Regions from separate parts of the Homo sapiens genome. Here all the other regions are linked to region 2. The links are contacts of gene promoters, found by promoter capture Hi-C in human tissues and cell types (Jung and others, 2019). All regions are on one chromosome and are shown on one strand. The core of a region is centred on a gene start or on the middle of the fragment in contact, and the rest is flanking DNA. Distances in the headings are between cores, read along the strand shown.

Evidence for each region. The method cuts DNA at HindIII sites, captures the fragments that hold promoters and counts their contacts. A contact is called where the count stands out against the background at its distance.
Region 1: a fragment that was not itself captured here is called in contact with the fragment with the promoter of FBLN1 in region 2 in 5 of the 25 tissues and cell types used here (bladder, dorsolateral prefrontal cortex, lymphoblastoid cells and 2 more).
Region 3: a fragment that was not itself captured here is called in contact with the fragment with the promoter of FBLN1 in region 2 in 5 of the 25 tissues and cell types used here (IMR-90 fibroblasts, aorta, bladder and 2 more).

The regions. Positions count from the first base shown.
Region 1 is chr22:45,465,383-45,469,951 of GRCh38, reverse strand. No RefSeq gene overlaps it. Among named protein-coding and RNA genes, the nearest start is that of FBLN1, 35 kb to the left of the region's middle. The HindIII fragment of the contact is 3,482 bases long and covers 1,161-4,569 here.
Region 2 is chr22:45,501,223-45,506,053 of GRCh38, reverse strand. FBLN1 (fibulin 1) reads right to left here and starts at 3,171. Exons shown (of 17, transcript NM_006486.3): 1 at 2,990-3,171. The coding sequence starts at 3,068. RefSeq lists enhancers at 1-101, 102-715, 716-1,329, 1,330-1,943, 1,944-2,557. The HindIII fragment of the contact is 10,534 bases long and covers 1-4,831 here.
Region 3 is chr22:45,550,744-45,555,318 of GRCh38, reverse strand. The region is part of intron 14 of FBLN1 (fibulin 1); the gene reads right to left. Among named protein-coding and RNA genes, the nearest start is that of FBLN1, 50 kb to the right of the region's middle. RefSeq lists an enhancer at 1,363-1,472. The HindIII fragment of the contact is 3,435 bases long and covers 1,270-4,575 here.

The sequences.
Region 1 (4,569 bases), core at 1,652-4,151, 36 kb after region 2:
TAAGGAACAAACAAGTCCAGGCCTGCCCTTGGGGAGGGAAGATTCTTAATGAGAAACATTTGAGGGCCAACCTTTGGGTACATTGCTTTTGAGCCAATGTGCTGTAATGTGATGTTTTTTTTCTTCCCCTAACGGGGTTAGCTTTAGAAGTATGTTTGGCAAGCACTTTTAACAACCCGCACTGCATCTCAGCACATGTTCATTATTGGCATAAAACAACATTGGAATTGAGACTATCCAAAAGGCATGAAAAAATTTGGAGGTATGTGTAATTTCGTAATGTTATGCCTAATTTCTAATGCCAGTTTTTCAGGTTTAAGTTTTGGCAAGTTAGAGTCACAATGGGGACATAGGCCAAACAAACAAAAAACAAGCCCAAACTAAAAAAGAAAAGAAATATGCATATGTTAAAGACTATCATTATCTCACCGAGACTGAACCCTGAAATCAAAACTGAGACATTCCCCAGAGAACGTGTGTGCTTTTTATGGCAGGCTTTATTCGTGCCTAATCTCTTTTTGCACATGAAAATCACTTTAATAAAACTTCCCCACACATTCGCATTCTAGAAAGAGAGCGTTTGTTGGTGATTCTGAGGTCTTATAACTTCATTTTGATGCCAGGGGATATTTGAAATATGTTTTTAAAACTTTAATGGAAAATGAAACAGATCATAAAGATAGGAGATCTACTTTAGAGGGTCAAGTAAAAATTTGTTCATAGTTAAACAGAATTCATAATGCTTTAGAACTGAACCAAAAACAATTGTTTCTAAACGCTGAAGTCACCACCGAGACTCAAAACCTGGAGCTGGGCTGCCTGGATCCTTCTCTGCTGCAGCAATAGAATATTTCAACTGCTTTTTAAAAACACCACACAGTAATGACTCATTGATCAAGTGAGTTGGAACGAATCTGGAAAATGCCAGTTCCCCGTGAGCAATTGCCCTCCCCAACCCCCCCCGCAATACTGAAGCTTACCACTTCCAGTGACAAGCCTTTGTTCGTTTTGTCAATTTCGAATGGAAAGATTTCCAAAATATAGAAATATCCTTGCTGATACAGTTGGGATATTTGTCCCCACCCGTATCTCATGTTGAATTGTAATCCCCAATGTTGGAGGTGGGGCCTGGTGGGAGGTGTTTGGATCATGGCGGCCAATTTCTCATGAATGGCTTGGGCTATCCCCTTGCTGATAAGTGAGTTCTAACCCCGAGTTTATACAACATCTGGTCATTTAAAAGTGTGTGGCACCTCCCCTTCTTCTCTCTCTCTTTCTCTCTCACCTTTCTGCTTTTGCCATGTGACGTGCCTGCTCCCCTTCACCTTCTGCCATTATTTTAAGCTTTCTGAGCTTCCTGCGTATGATGTACATTGGTTCGGTCCTGTAAGGTGGGACAACTCGAAGTGGGGGCTTCCAGGTTAAAGGTAGACAAGAGACAAAAGGTTGCATTCTTTTGAGTCCTTGACCAGTCTTCCACTGAATACACAATTTAGTCCCGTTCAGTGAATCTGCATTTTTACATAAACGATAGGGAAGAGGAAGCAATCAGATAGGCATTTGTCTCAGGTGAGCCTCAGAGGGATGACTTTGAATGGAATGGGAGGCAGCTTTGTCCTAAGCAGTTCCCAGCTTGACTTTTTCCTTTAGTTTAGTGATTTGGGGGTCCCAAGATTTATTTTCCTTTCACTCACAGAAATCCTTAATGTGATATGATCAAATCAAATCCAGAAATATACAAAAAGGACAATCCATCATGACCAAGTCAGACTGATCACAGAAATTCAAGGTTGGTTTAACACTTGAAAATCAATCAGTGTAAGTCACCACGTTGCCATAAATCATGTAATCATTTCAATATATGCAGATGATATGGTTTGGCTCTATGCTCCCACTCAAATCTCATCTCCAATCGTAATCCCTACATGTTGAGGGAGGGACCTGTAATTCCCACATGTGGAGGGAGGAAGGTGAATGGATCATGGGGCCGGTTTCCCTCGTGCTGTTCTCGTGATAATGAGGGAGTTTTCACGAGATCTGATGGTTTTTTAAGTGTTTGGAAGCTCGTCCTTCATCCTCCTCTCTCCTGATGGCTTGTGAAGAAAGTACTTGCTTCCCTGTCACCTTCCTCCATAGTGTTAAGCTTCCGGAGGCCTCCCCAGCCAGGCTGAACTGTGAGTCAATTAAACCTCTTTCCTTTACAATTTACCCACTCTCAGGTAAGTTCTTTATGGCAGTGGGAAAATGAACTAATACAGCAGAAAAAACACTTGACAAAATTCAACAATCATTGATGCTTAAAAGGTCTCCATAGGCCAGGTGCGGTGGCTCACGCCTGTAATCCCAGCACTTTGGGAGGCCGAGGCCAGTGGATCACCTGAGGTCAGGAGTTCAAGACCAGCCTGGAAAATGCAGTGAGACCCCATTTCTACTAAAAATACAGGCTGGCATGTTGGCTCACTCCTGTAATCCCATCACTTTGGGAGACCAAGGCGAGTGGATTGCCTGAGGTCAGAAATTCAAGACCAGCCTGGCTAACATGGTGAAACCCCATCTCTACTAAAAATACAAAAATTAGCCAGGCATGCTGGCAGGCACCTGTAATCCCAGCTACTCGGGAGGCTGAGGCAGGAGAATTGCTTGAATCCGGGAGGCAGATGTTGCAGTGAGCCAAGATCGTACCATTGCCCTTCAGCCTGGGTGACAAGATTGAGACTTAGTATCAAAAAACAAAACAAAACAAAACAAAACCCAAAAATTAGCCAGGGTTAATGGCGGGTGGCTGTCATCCCAGCTACTCGGGAGGCTGAGGCTGGAGAATCGCTTGAATCCAGGAGGTGGAGGTTGCAGTGAGCTGAGATTGCACTATTGCACACCAGCCTGGGCAACAAGAGCAAAACTCCGACTCAAAAAAGAAAAAGTCTCAATAAACTGGAATGAAAAGGAACTCTTGAACCTGGTCAAGGCGGTCCACATAGACTGACAGTGAACATGCTCAAGGAATGCAGGAAACAGCTGAGTTGTCAGTTCTGTATTTTTAGTAGAGACAGGGTTTCACCATGTTGTCCAGGCTGGTCTTGAACTCTTGACCTCAGGTGATCCGCCCACCTCAGCCTCCCAGAGTGCTGGGATTACAGGCGTAAGCCACCATGCCTGGCCTCTTTTTCTTTTTAAATTATACAGATACAATTTAAAATAGAGATGGGGTCTCACTATGTTGCCCAGGCTGGAGGCTTTTTTTTCTAATATGTGCATTTATTGCTATAAATTTCCCTCATGATATTGCTTTAGCTGTGTCTCACAAATTTTAATATGTTGTATTTTCATTTGTATTCAATTTAATGTGTTTTTCTTACTTCCCTTGAGACTTCCTGTTTGACCCATAGATTGTCTAGAAGTGTGTTGTTGAGTTTCTAAGTATGTGGAGGTTTTCCTGTTATCTTTTTGCTATTAATTTCTTGTTGGATTCTATGTGATTAGAGAGCATACCCTCATGATCTCTCAATTCTTGAAAATTTGTTAAAGTTTGTTTTATGGTCCAAGATATGGTCTATCTTGGTGTATGTTCCCCAGCACCAATTGCTGAAAAGATACCTGAAATGTGAAAGCAGCTTTGGAACTGGGGAACAGGCAGAGATTGGAACAGTTTGGAGGGATCAGAAGAAGACAGGAAAATGTGGGAAAGTTTGGAACTTTCTAGGGACTTGTTGAAAAGCTTTGCCCCAAATGCTGACAGCGATATGGACAATAAAGTCCAGGCTGAGGTGGTCTCAGATAGAGATGAGGAACTTGTTGGGAACTGGAGCAAAGGTGACTCTTGTTATGTTTTAGCAAAGAGACTGGCAGCATTTTGCCCCTGCCCTAGAGATTTGTGGAACTTTGTACTTGAGGGAGATGACTTAGGGTATCTAGCAGAAATTTCTAAGCAGCAAAGCATTTAAGATGTAACTTGGATGCTGTTAAAAGCATTTGATTTTAAAAGTGAAACAGAGCATAAAAGTTTAGAAAACGTGCAGCCTGACAATGCAATAGAAAAGAAAATCCCATTTTCTGAGGAGAAATTCAAGCAGGCTGCAGACATTTGCGTAAATAACGAGGAGCCAATTGTTAATCCCCAAGACAATGAGGAAAATATGAAAAGAACATATGTTCTGCTCTTGTTGGGTGGAGTGTTCTATAAATATTGTTGAGATACTGTTGGTTGATGTTTCTGTTGAGTTTTCTTATTCTATATCTTTGTTGATATTCTGCCTGATTAGTCTATAATTTATTGAGAGAGGGGTATTAAAGTCTCCAAGTATAATTCTTGATTTATCTATTTGTCCTTCCAGTTTTTTTTTTTTTTTTTTTTTTTTTTTTTTTTTTTTTTTTTTTTTGAGGGAGAATCTCACTCTGTCACCCAGGCTGGAGTGGAGTAGCATGATCTCGGCTCACTGCAACCTCTGCCTCCTGGGTGCAAGTGATTCTCCTGCCTCAGTCTTCTGAGTAGCTGAGATTACAGGCACTCGCCACCATGCTTGGCAAATTTTTTTTTTTTTTTTTTTTTGAGACGGAGTCTTGCTCTGTTGC
Region 2 (4,831 bases), core at 1,922-4,421:
CTCACACCTGTAATTCCAGCACTTTGGGAGGCCGAGGTAGGTGGATCACCTGAGGTCAGGAGTTCGAGACTAGCCTGGCCAAGATGGTGAAACCCCATCTCTACTAAAAGTACAAAAATTAGCTGGGCGTGATGGGCGCCTGCAATCCCAGCTGCTGGGGAGGCTGAAGCAGGAGAATCGCTTCAACTCGGGAGGCGGAGGTTGCAGTGAGTCGAGATCATGCCATTGCACTCCAGCCTGGGCGACAAGAGCGAAACTCCGTCTCAAAAATAAAATAAAATAATAATAATAATAATATAGCTGCCATGGTAGACACTATCCTATGTTCTCTCTCTTAATCCTCAAGACAACCTAAGTAGGTTTTTGTTCCCTTCATTTTATAAATGAGAAAACCACCAAACCATCTCATGGCTTTTTCTGATGCAAACTGATTTCTAGTCTCACAAGGCCCGTGGAGCCCTCCAGGACCTGAAGATGAGTCAGCCGCGTGCCCCTACTCCTGCCCTACACACCTAACAGGGGTGGCAAATGCAGCCCTGAGTTGGGGGGCACTCAGCAGGGCCAGGAGCGGGGCGTGAGCCAGAGCTGTGGGTGCTGCAGGAGAGGCCCCAGCCCTGACCCCCATGGCACAGAGTCTCATCTTCATGCATTCAGTGCCCTGGCCCCCACCTCCTGACTGGGAAACTTCCAGGAGTGGCGGCACAGACCACACGTTTTCAAGCCAAGTCCTCCCTGGCCTTTGTTCTCCCTCCCAACTTTCTTTTAATCAGTCGGAAACGCTGCCCGGCTGCAGCCAGAGGCCAAGAAAGCCTTGGAGAAAACACAATCGTCTTTTCCTAACACCTCCTCCTCTCCACTCCCTCCCACCCAGCTCTCAGTAAAGCCCAACGGGACGGACAGACACAGGACAGACAGGCGGCTCCTCTCGGCCGTTTGGCAAGAAAGATCAGCGCCCTTCTCCATTTAAGCGGCCGTCGCCAAAGGAGTTTCTGCAGATCAGCTAACAGGCTCACCATCTGCGGCCCCACAGCTCTCTGAGAGCAGGGGCGGTGCCACTTGTGGCCTTACATACAGGGCTTCGGGGGCCTCACAGCTGCAGATAGGGGCCAGGCAGTCTTCAAAAGCCCCTTCCCAAACTGTACCAAATTAAACCTGTTGAAACTCAAAGAGACTTCTCCCCAAAAGAAACAAAAGGCCCACAGGACATCCAGCTGCTTTTATCGAAGTGTGCAATTAGGAGGCTTTTTTAAACCCTTCCAATTACAAACTTCTCTGTGGCTCAGCAGTGAGCCACACTGGGCCCGCAAGTCCTGGGGTGTTCATTCAGTCACACACACATAGGGAGAAATTGTTCGCAAACCGCAGACAGAAAAGAACAGTGAGAGGGAACGCAGAGACTCCGGGGCCAGGGAGAGTTTTACCACGCCTTCTCTCAGGCCCTCAGCTTCCTCATCGACACAATCGGGGCCTCTGAGGCTCCTTCCTTTTCTAACAGGAGTCTCGGATGTCCCACCCACCCATCACCCAGGGCCCCTCGGGGTTTTCCCTCCAGCTGGCAGCCACCCGGCCTGCTGCTTGCTGGAATGCCCTCTTCCCGCGCTCCCCTTACATCAAGCTCCATCTCTTCTAAAGAGCCTCCAGGGAGCCCCCAGGGGCTGCGAAGGCTCCTGGTGCCAACACTGAGCTCTGCGCCTCCCCACACCATCTCCAACCCCACGAGGTGCCCAGGCCGTGCCCAGCACCGCCTGAACAATCAGAGCTCCACAGGGCTCTGCTGCAGCCAGCCAGTCAAGAAAGCTCTGTAGAGCTCAGCTCCCAGCCTCCCCTCCCCCTCCAGCCCCCTTCAGCCCCCTTCCTGGAATCCCCCAGTGAGCATTAGTTGGGACAAGCGACCTTTTGACTAACAAAGGCGGTCACCAGAGGTTAAAAGGAACTCAACTAAACCAGGGATTAAGACTCGGATTCTGAGGGTGGTCTAGGGCACTCCCCTGGACCTGGGCCACTGGAGAAACAAAGACGCCAGGAGTGCCGGGCCTGGCTAGTGGCTCTGAGAAGCCACGGGTCAGCAGAGAGGTCACAGGTCATAGCTCTGCCGCCCAGCAGCTGCTCTGATCAGAGGACCTCGTGGCAGTCCCCCCAGGGACCAGGCCTTGAGGGTTAGAGGGGAGAAAAGCGCGGGCTGGGTGGGCACTGTCCCGGAGCTGTCAGTCCCAGAGTTGGGGCCTAAGGTCTGGGCCATCGATCAGATCTGCTCTTGGAAAACTCCATCCCCCTTGCCGTTGGTGGAAGTGACCAGTCCCCAGTCCCCGCTGAGCACCGAGCCCGGCAGAACCACTGCCTTGGGCCCTCTGTCCCGGGAGGGAGGCAGGGAGGAGGTGGCCAGGTCCGCATCCCCTCCATCCTCCCAGCTACGCCCCAAAAACCTCCAGGCTGCTCCCTGGCTTTCTCATTTCTTCCTCTCCAGCCCCTATCCCAGGACCGCTAGTGTCTCCTGGGGAAAAGACTGCTTCCCACCCTCCAGGCTCAAGTTTCACATCCGCAAGCTGGGTACAACAGCTCCTACCTGGGGGTGGAGGCGGGAAGCGGTGAGGAAAGATAGCCGAGGGCGCTTCCAGCGTCAAGTGCAAGGCGCCCTGGGCTCGGTAACCCCCAGCCAGCGTCCCCCAGCCCAGCTAGCGCCCCTGAACCCCCAGGGCCCGGGATGCGGCCCCCGGAGCCGGCTGGATTTGCTAGGACTGGGGTAGGACGGTGTGTTTGAGGGGTGGGGGAATCCGGTTTTGAAACAAGTCCCCAGGCCGGGGAGGAGATGAGGACCGGAGCTGGCCGTGGGGGAGGGGGGCGTCGCCGAGGCCTCGGCGCTGACAGTCCGGGGGCGCCGCGCAGGGCAACGCACGGACTCCGAGTCCCCGTGGTTCCGAAACTCGCAGGGAGCGCGAGGCCGAGGGGGTCGGGACCCTAAGCTGGGGCGGCGGACCCGGGACGCCCCTACCTCCGGCCGCCAGCAGCGCAAGGCCGCCGAGCAGCAGCAGCGGAAGCGGGACCCGGCGCGACGGCGCGGCGCGCTCCATGGGCGGCGGGCGACGGGCGGTGGGCGGCGGCGGACAAAGGCGCGGGCGCGGTCCTGGGGCAGCGGCGCGGGCTCCACGCTCCGGCCGAGCCTCGGCAGCCAACGCTGGGCCAGGGCCGCGCCGTTCAATTATCCCGCCCGGGAGGAGGGCGCGGCGGAGGCGGGGCCGCGGGTCTCCTGGTCCTCCCTCCCCGGCGCCCCCTGCCGGGACCCTCCCTCCCCGGACCCCGGCTGCGAGGGGCGCGCGCCCACGGCTGGGGGCGAGGGCCTGGATCCCAGACTTCCCCGGAGGGGGCACAGAGGGGGCGCCTTCGGGCCGGATGCCCCCAGTCCTATCCCCCAACACTCCGTGAAACCCGATCCCCTCCTCCCCCCACCCCCTCTCGAGGGGAGGGCTCGGGATCAAAGGTTATCCCCGCCCGACTCCGCGCGGAGGAGCGGGGACCCGGGCCTGCAGTCGGAGGCCCGGCTGCTGGGGGGCACTGGGGCAGGCCTTACCGCCAACCCCGCACCCTCGGCCGGGAGGCTGCAGGTCGGTGGCTAACCCCAGGCGTGTCCCGGGATGGGACCCGACTCTGCCCTCAGAGACAGGGACAGTCGGGCCAGGCCAACAAACAACCAAAATCCCAACGTGTGCTGGGCTCACCCGGGACACCAGGGCCGGAGGGAGAGACCCGGGAAGTCACCGAGGCTGCAGGGGAGGCAGCTTTGGCGCTGGGCCTGCGGGAGCCTCTTGTATAGGAATTCATAGCTACCGGGGTTACTGAGGATGAGTTAGGCTTTGGAACCACAAGTAGATTTATTTTCCAAAGAAGAAGAATAAAATGGTGCAGGTGAAGATGCGGAGGAACTGGATGAGACGCATAGGAACGCCACTGGGCAGCTCAAAGCGGTGTTCCTGTGAGTTCACCATGGACCCCTTGAGCCACCGACGCCCCGCCCAGCCTTACACTCAGCAGAAACGCATACAACATGTGCTCCAAAAGACAGAAAGACATGTAGCCGCACATTCATAATTCCTCCAATTGGGAAGCCTAGCGTCATCAAGGCAGATGAATATCGTGGAGTATTCGGGCTTAGGAGCACGACAAACGGAACAGGAGTGAATGATCCGCAACTCACATAACGGGTAAATCTCACAGACGTAAGTCAGAGTAATAGAGTCAGCCACAAAGGAACACTCGCTGCATGATTCCATTTACATAAAAGGCAAGAACAGGCCGGTGGCGGTGGCTCACACCTGTAATCCCAGCACTTTGGGAGGATGAAGTGGGCGGATTGCCTGAGGTCAGGAGTTCGAAACCAGCCTGGCCAACATGGTGAAACCCTGTCTCTACTAAAAATAAAAATAAAAATAAATTAGCCAGGCATGGTGGTGCACACCTGTAGTCCCAGCTACTCGGGAGGCTGAGGCAGGAGAATCGCCTGAACCCGGGAGACGGAGGTTGCAGTGAGCCGAGATCTCACCACTGCACTCCAGCCTGGGCGGCGGAGTGAGACTCCGTCTCAAAAAAAAAAAAAAAAAAAAAAAAAGGCAAGAACAGTTCAGAGGTCAGGAGAGTGGTGATCCTGGAGTGGGAGCGTGCTGGGCTTTCGGGGGCTGGTTAGGTTCAGCTTTCTTACTCTGGGTATTGGTTACAAGGTTGGGCTCAGTTTGTGAGAATTTATTGAGCTGTTCATTTATGGTACGTGCCCTTTTCTGAATACATGTTGTTTCTTTCTGTTTTTTTGAGATGGTGTTTTGCTTTTGTTGCCCAGGCTGGA
Region 3 (4,575 bases), core at 1,738-4,237, 49 kb before region 2:
TATATATTCCATATATATATTCCATTTTATATATATATATATATATTCCATTTTATATATATATATATATGTATATTCCATTAGTTCTGTCCCTCTAGAGAACCCTAATACAGGTCCAAACTTCTTGTGGTGGAGACAGAGACGGGTCCCAACCTCCTGCGGTGGAGACACGGACGGGTCCCAACCTCCTGGGGTGGAGACGGGGACGGGTCCCAACCTCCTGCGGTGGAGACGGGGACGGGTCCTAACCTCCTGCGGTGGAGACGGGGACGGGTCCTAACCTCCTGCGGTGGAGACGGGGACGGGTCCTAACTTCCTGTGGTGGAGACGGGGACGGGTCCTAACTTCCTGTATAGGATGAGCACAGATTCCAACTTCCTGTTACAGATTCTAACCTCCTGTGACAGGATGGAGATCGGTATTATCTTCCGCTACAGGATAGTAACAAGTTCTAATTTCTTGTCACAAGATGGGACAGGGGTCGTCTCCTGTGTACTGAACTCCTGGCCCATCATACTCTGAAGGTGGCTGCCTGAGGAAGCAGGGCCCAGGTGCGGAGCCCCAGAGGACCTGGCCCAGGTGCTCCAGGAAGCCCTGCCATCTGGGCTGTGTCTGGATTCTGAGGTCAGGAGCATCCTCTCGTCCTGGCCTTCTATCACATCTCCCTTTTGGCTTTTTAAGTTTCCATGTCTCGTGCTGGGTTACTTGGACTTGCTTGAGGCATTTATCGAGACTGGGGTCTCCTTTTACCTCCTCTTTCCAGGTTTGTCAGGACTGACAGGAGGCCTTGCATTTACTTGGCTAGTGATCATTCCAAGCTCTTAGAAAGGACTGGCCTGGGAGTCAGGGGCACTGAACGGGGGAGTCCTGCCTGGGAGGGGCCCAAAACAGAGGCAGGAAAGAAGGTGGGCACGGGTGCTGCTGGCGGTGGCCTGCCCCAGAGATGCCCAGGTCCAGGCCAAACGGGAGTGCTCCAGGCGATCTGAGAGCTCTCCCCCAGGGGGGCCTCTGAGGAGCTATGACCAAAGCGTCCGTGAACTGGGGGAGGAGCATGGGACCCATGAGCTGTGCTTCCGGGTGCAGGTGAACTGCGCTTCCGGGTGCAGGGAGCAGGCTGCAAGCAGCAGACTTTCCTTCCACTCGCTCCCTCCACTGTCTCCCATCGTCCTCCCGCTCTACTGGCTGGAAGACAGACGCCCATTGAGGATGCAGAACTTGCTGATAGCTCCGTGGTGTGTCGTAAGGGGCAAGCTTGGCTTTCAAAGTCGGCCTGTCTTACTTCAAAGCTTTTACACACACAATGTATGCACACACACAAGCACGCGCACACGCACACACACCAGCAACTTCAGGACCAGCCTGGATGGGGCTGGTCAGCAGGTGGCGCTAGAGTCGCCCTGGTGGGATTTCGGCTTCCCGCTTCTCTCAGCATGGCGGGTACTAACCAGGGATGGAATTTGTTTTGCCAGAGGGAAGCGGAGGAAAGCAATGGGAGGTGTGCGTGGTGTTCTGGTGCAGCTCCCGCCGTCATCACACACAGCGACTGGTCACTCCTCCCCTGGAGGCTCCCCCTCCGACCCCACACAGTCATTCCTCAGAGCACCCCAAAACCTTCTCTACACTAGGAGTTTCTGGGCTGGCTCCTTCTGGACAAAGAGCAGGGCCTGGGGCACCCGCTATGTGCTTTGCAAATGACTAATGCACAAAAATAAACATGTCCTTGATTTTCCTGGTAAGTCCTGGCTTCAATGATCGTACTTCGCTCTACTCAAACTTTTTAAAACACCAGAAACATAACTGTCTGGCAAACTGCCTGTCAGACTGGGAACGGCCCAAAAATCCCTTTTAGCCAGTGTGTCTAGGTCAGGGACGGGTTGTCATCACTGAATGTATTACAGAGCAGGGCATAGGCGAGCCCGCCCCGTCCCCCCCTGCCACGCAGGCCCTGGTTTCCAGACATGTCCCCTCAGCAGGCCACCCATCCTGGGCCATGTCATGCGTTAGAGGACAATGTGCTCCAACTTGCCAGTTCAACACATTTGACCCTAACACCTCAAGCTCTATGGAAATGATCCTAAGCCACCACACACCAGAGAAAAAAGGCCCTCTAGGCCCCCTCCTTCTCCTGGGAGGCACGGCAGTTCTGGCCACCCCAGGTGCTTGTGGATATCCCTGCCGGCATTTTCCTGACTTTCACACGCTCGTCGTCCGGGAGACAAGCCCCAGGAACTGGCCAAGGCAGGGGGGCCATCGACGGCTCTATCTCTGCCACCGTCCACCGTGTTACACCCTCAGGCCCACAGCTGTTCACTCGTGTCCCATCCCCGGGAAGCGGCAACCAAGGCCACCCGGCTTTGCTCCAGCTTTCTAGACCACAGGTCATCAGGCGCCGGCCCCACTGAGGGGATAAAGAGGATGTGTCCGGCCCCATGAAGGCTGTGGGACAGCTTTGCACACTTCCTCCTGCGGGCAGAAGGGAATTGTGTGGGCAGGACTGTAACAGCCTGGTCCTGTCCACAAGGCCGAGCCCTGTGGTTTGCGGCCCAGCTTCCTGGGTCATGCTCCAGTTACCAGCCCTCGGCCGCCGGGATGTTCCCCAGATGGAAGCCGTCTGAGTGGAGAGAGAGAGAAAGGCACAGCAGCGGACTCTGCAGTCCTGTCTGTCAAGGCTCCCGAAGGAGGCGCTCTTGCTGAGTTGTTAACCACAGAAGCGCCGGCCATGGGTCCCTCCTAAATATGGCTCTTTTAGATTTTAAAAATTGCTTTCTGAAGCTTAGATGAAAAAACGTGTTAAGCAGCTTCGATTTTTGATGAGCAGGAAAAGGGGCTGTAAAATACAAAACTCCAGTCTGAGGGGTTAGCAGTGCTGAGAGGGGGTGGCCCCTCCTCACTATCAGTCCCGGGAGTCCAAGGGCTGGAACAAGCCAGGCGCCCAGCAGCTCAATCCCTTACTGCACAGCACACAGGGCCCAGGTTTCAGGCTGAACTCCCCATTTCACCGCACATGTGTCCATACTCCCGCCGCTTCTGCCTAATTCGCTCCCCCTTCCACCTCCATGCAGGCATGGCCCACTCCAGACAGCCCCCTGCCCACCCTCACGCCCAGCCAGGTGGGGTCCCCTCCTCCCTCCTAGCACACACGCCGAAGGCGGAGCCTGTGCGGGGACAAAGCCCTCTGTGGGCTGTCTACCCAGGTGCCTGCACGCAGTAGGTCCAGGAAGAAACGACTTTCTCCAGCACTGAGGGGTGGCAGAGGCTTCCACAGCCAACATGAGGGGTGGAGCTGGGTTCCCCTGATTTCAGCCATGACCTCAGCACACATGGCCAACCCGCCCACCCTCAGGCTTAGGAGGCGCCAGGGCCCCTGTGCAGGGCAGCCTCCCCCTCTTCGAAAGGTGGTTTCACGACTGTGCGCAAGTTAGAAATCGAGGTCACAACCACAGCCAGCCTCCTGGAATCCTCAAGCCCAGGCGCTGACAAAGGCTGGGGAGAGAGTGAACTTACAATGACAGACGGCTGCACAGCCTGCAGCCAAGGCCATCGAACTTTCTTAATGGCTCAGAGAAGCAGTGTCACTGCCTGGGGCAGGCTGTTGCATAACCATGAGCTCTTCGGGATGCTACAGACTTGCAAACCCAGTTTTGGGGCAGCTTTTTCCTAACCCAAGCTCAGGAAGGAAACAAGATGTTGGGTTTTCAAGCAGACAGAAATCCGTGCTGGGAAACAGGGAAATGGCTGGGCCAGCCAATGAGAATCGCAAAGCCAGGAAGAATATGGAGGGCTGCCAGGGACAACGGGGCTGCTCGGGTACCCAGAAGCCTTGCTATGCCACAAGCCAGGGCAGCTGCCCCTAGGGTCAAGAGGTGGACACTACCACTGACCCTCAGGTCGCGGGGGCAGCTGGCCAAGAGCCCAAGGCAGGCTGAAGGTCAAGGGGCCAAGGCCTCGGAAACAGCTGGCTGCCTGCATCGTGCACTCAGAGTGCTGGGAGAGGTCACAAGTCCACAGTCCTGAGATCGGTCCCAGCATGGAGCTTTTCCTGAAGCAACTGACTGTGGCACTAAATGAGACTTTCTGAATACAATTAGGGGCAAGGGGGATAGGAAGTGGGAACCGTGGTCTCAAGTGGGCGCCGTGATGGCCTAGGAGTGAGTGAGCTTACAAAGACATAGGGGCACGCAGCCCCACGTTTAGGATCTGGAATCTTTGATGCCGTTCCCACACGGTCACCAGGCTGGACGAATTCTGGCTTTCAGGTGGGCACCTAACAACAACGTCCAACAGGTCACATCGGCTCCCTGGCTTTGGGCTGACATGGAGACATTGCTACCTATGCATCTCAGTCAGAGCACGTTCTGACATCTGCATGTTACAGATGAGGAAACTGAGGCCCAGAGAGCTTGCCCAAGGCTTCCACCCTAGGAAAAAAGAGGGCTGTGGTTTCTCCTGGTTCTGTGCACAGCCTTGGCCTGAAAACATGACTATAGACCCCAGACTCATTTGCAGTTACCCCCTTGACTTTCCGAGACCAGTGTCACTAGCATTTAGGGGCTTGAGGGCCAGGGATCAGGTGAT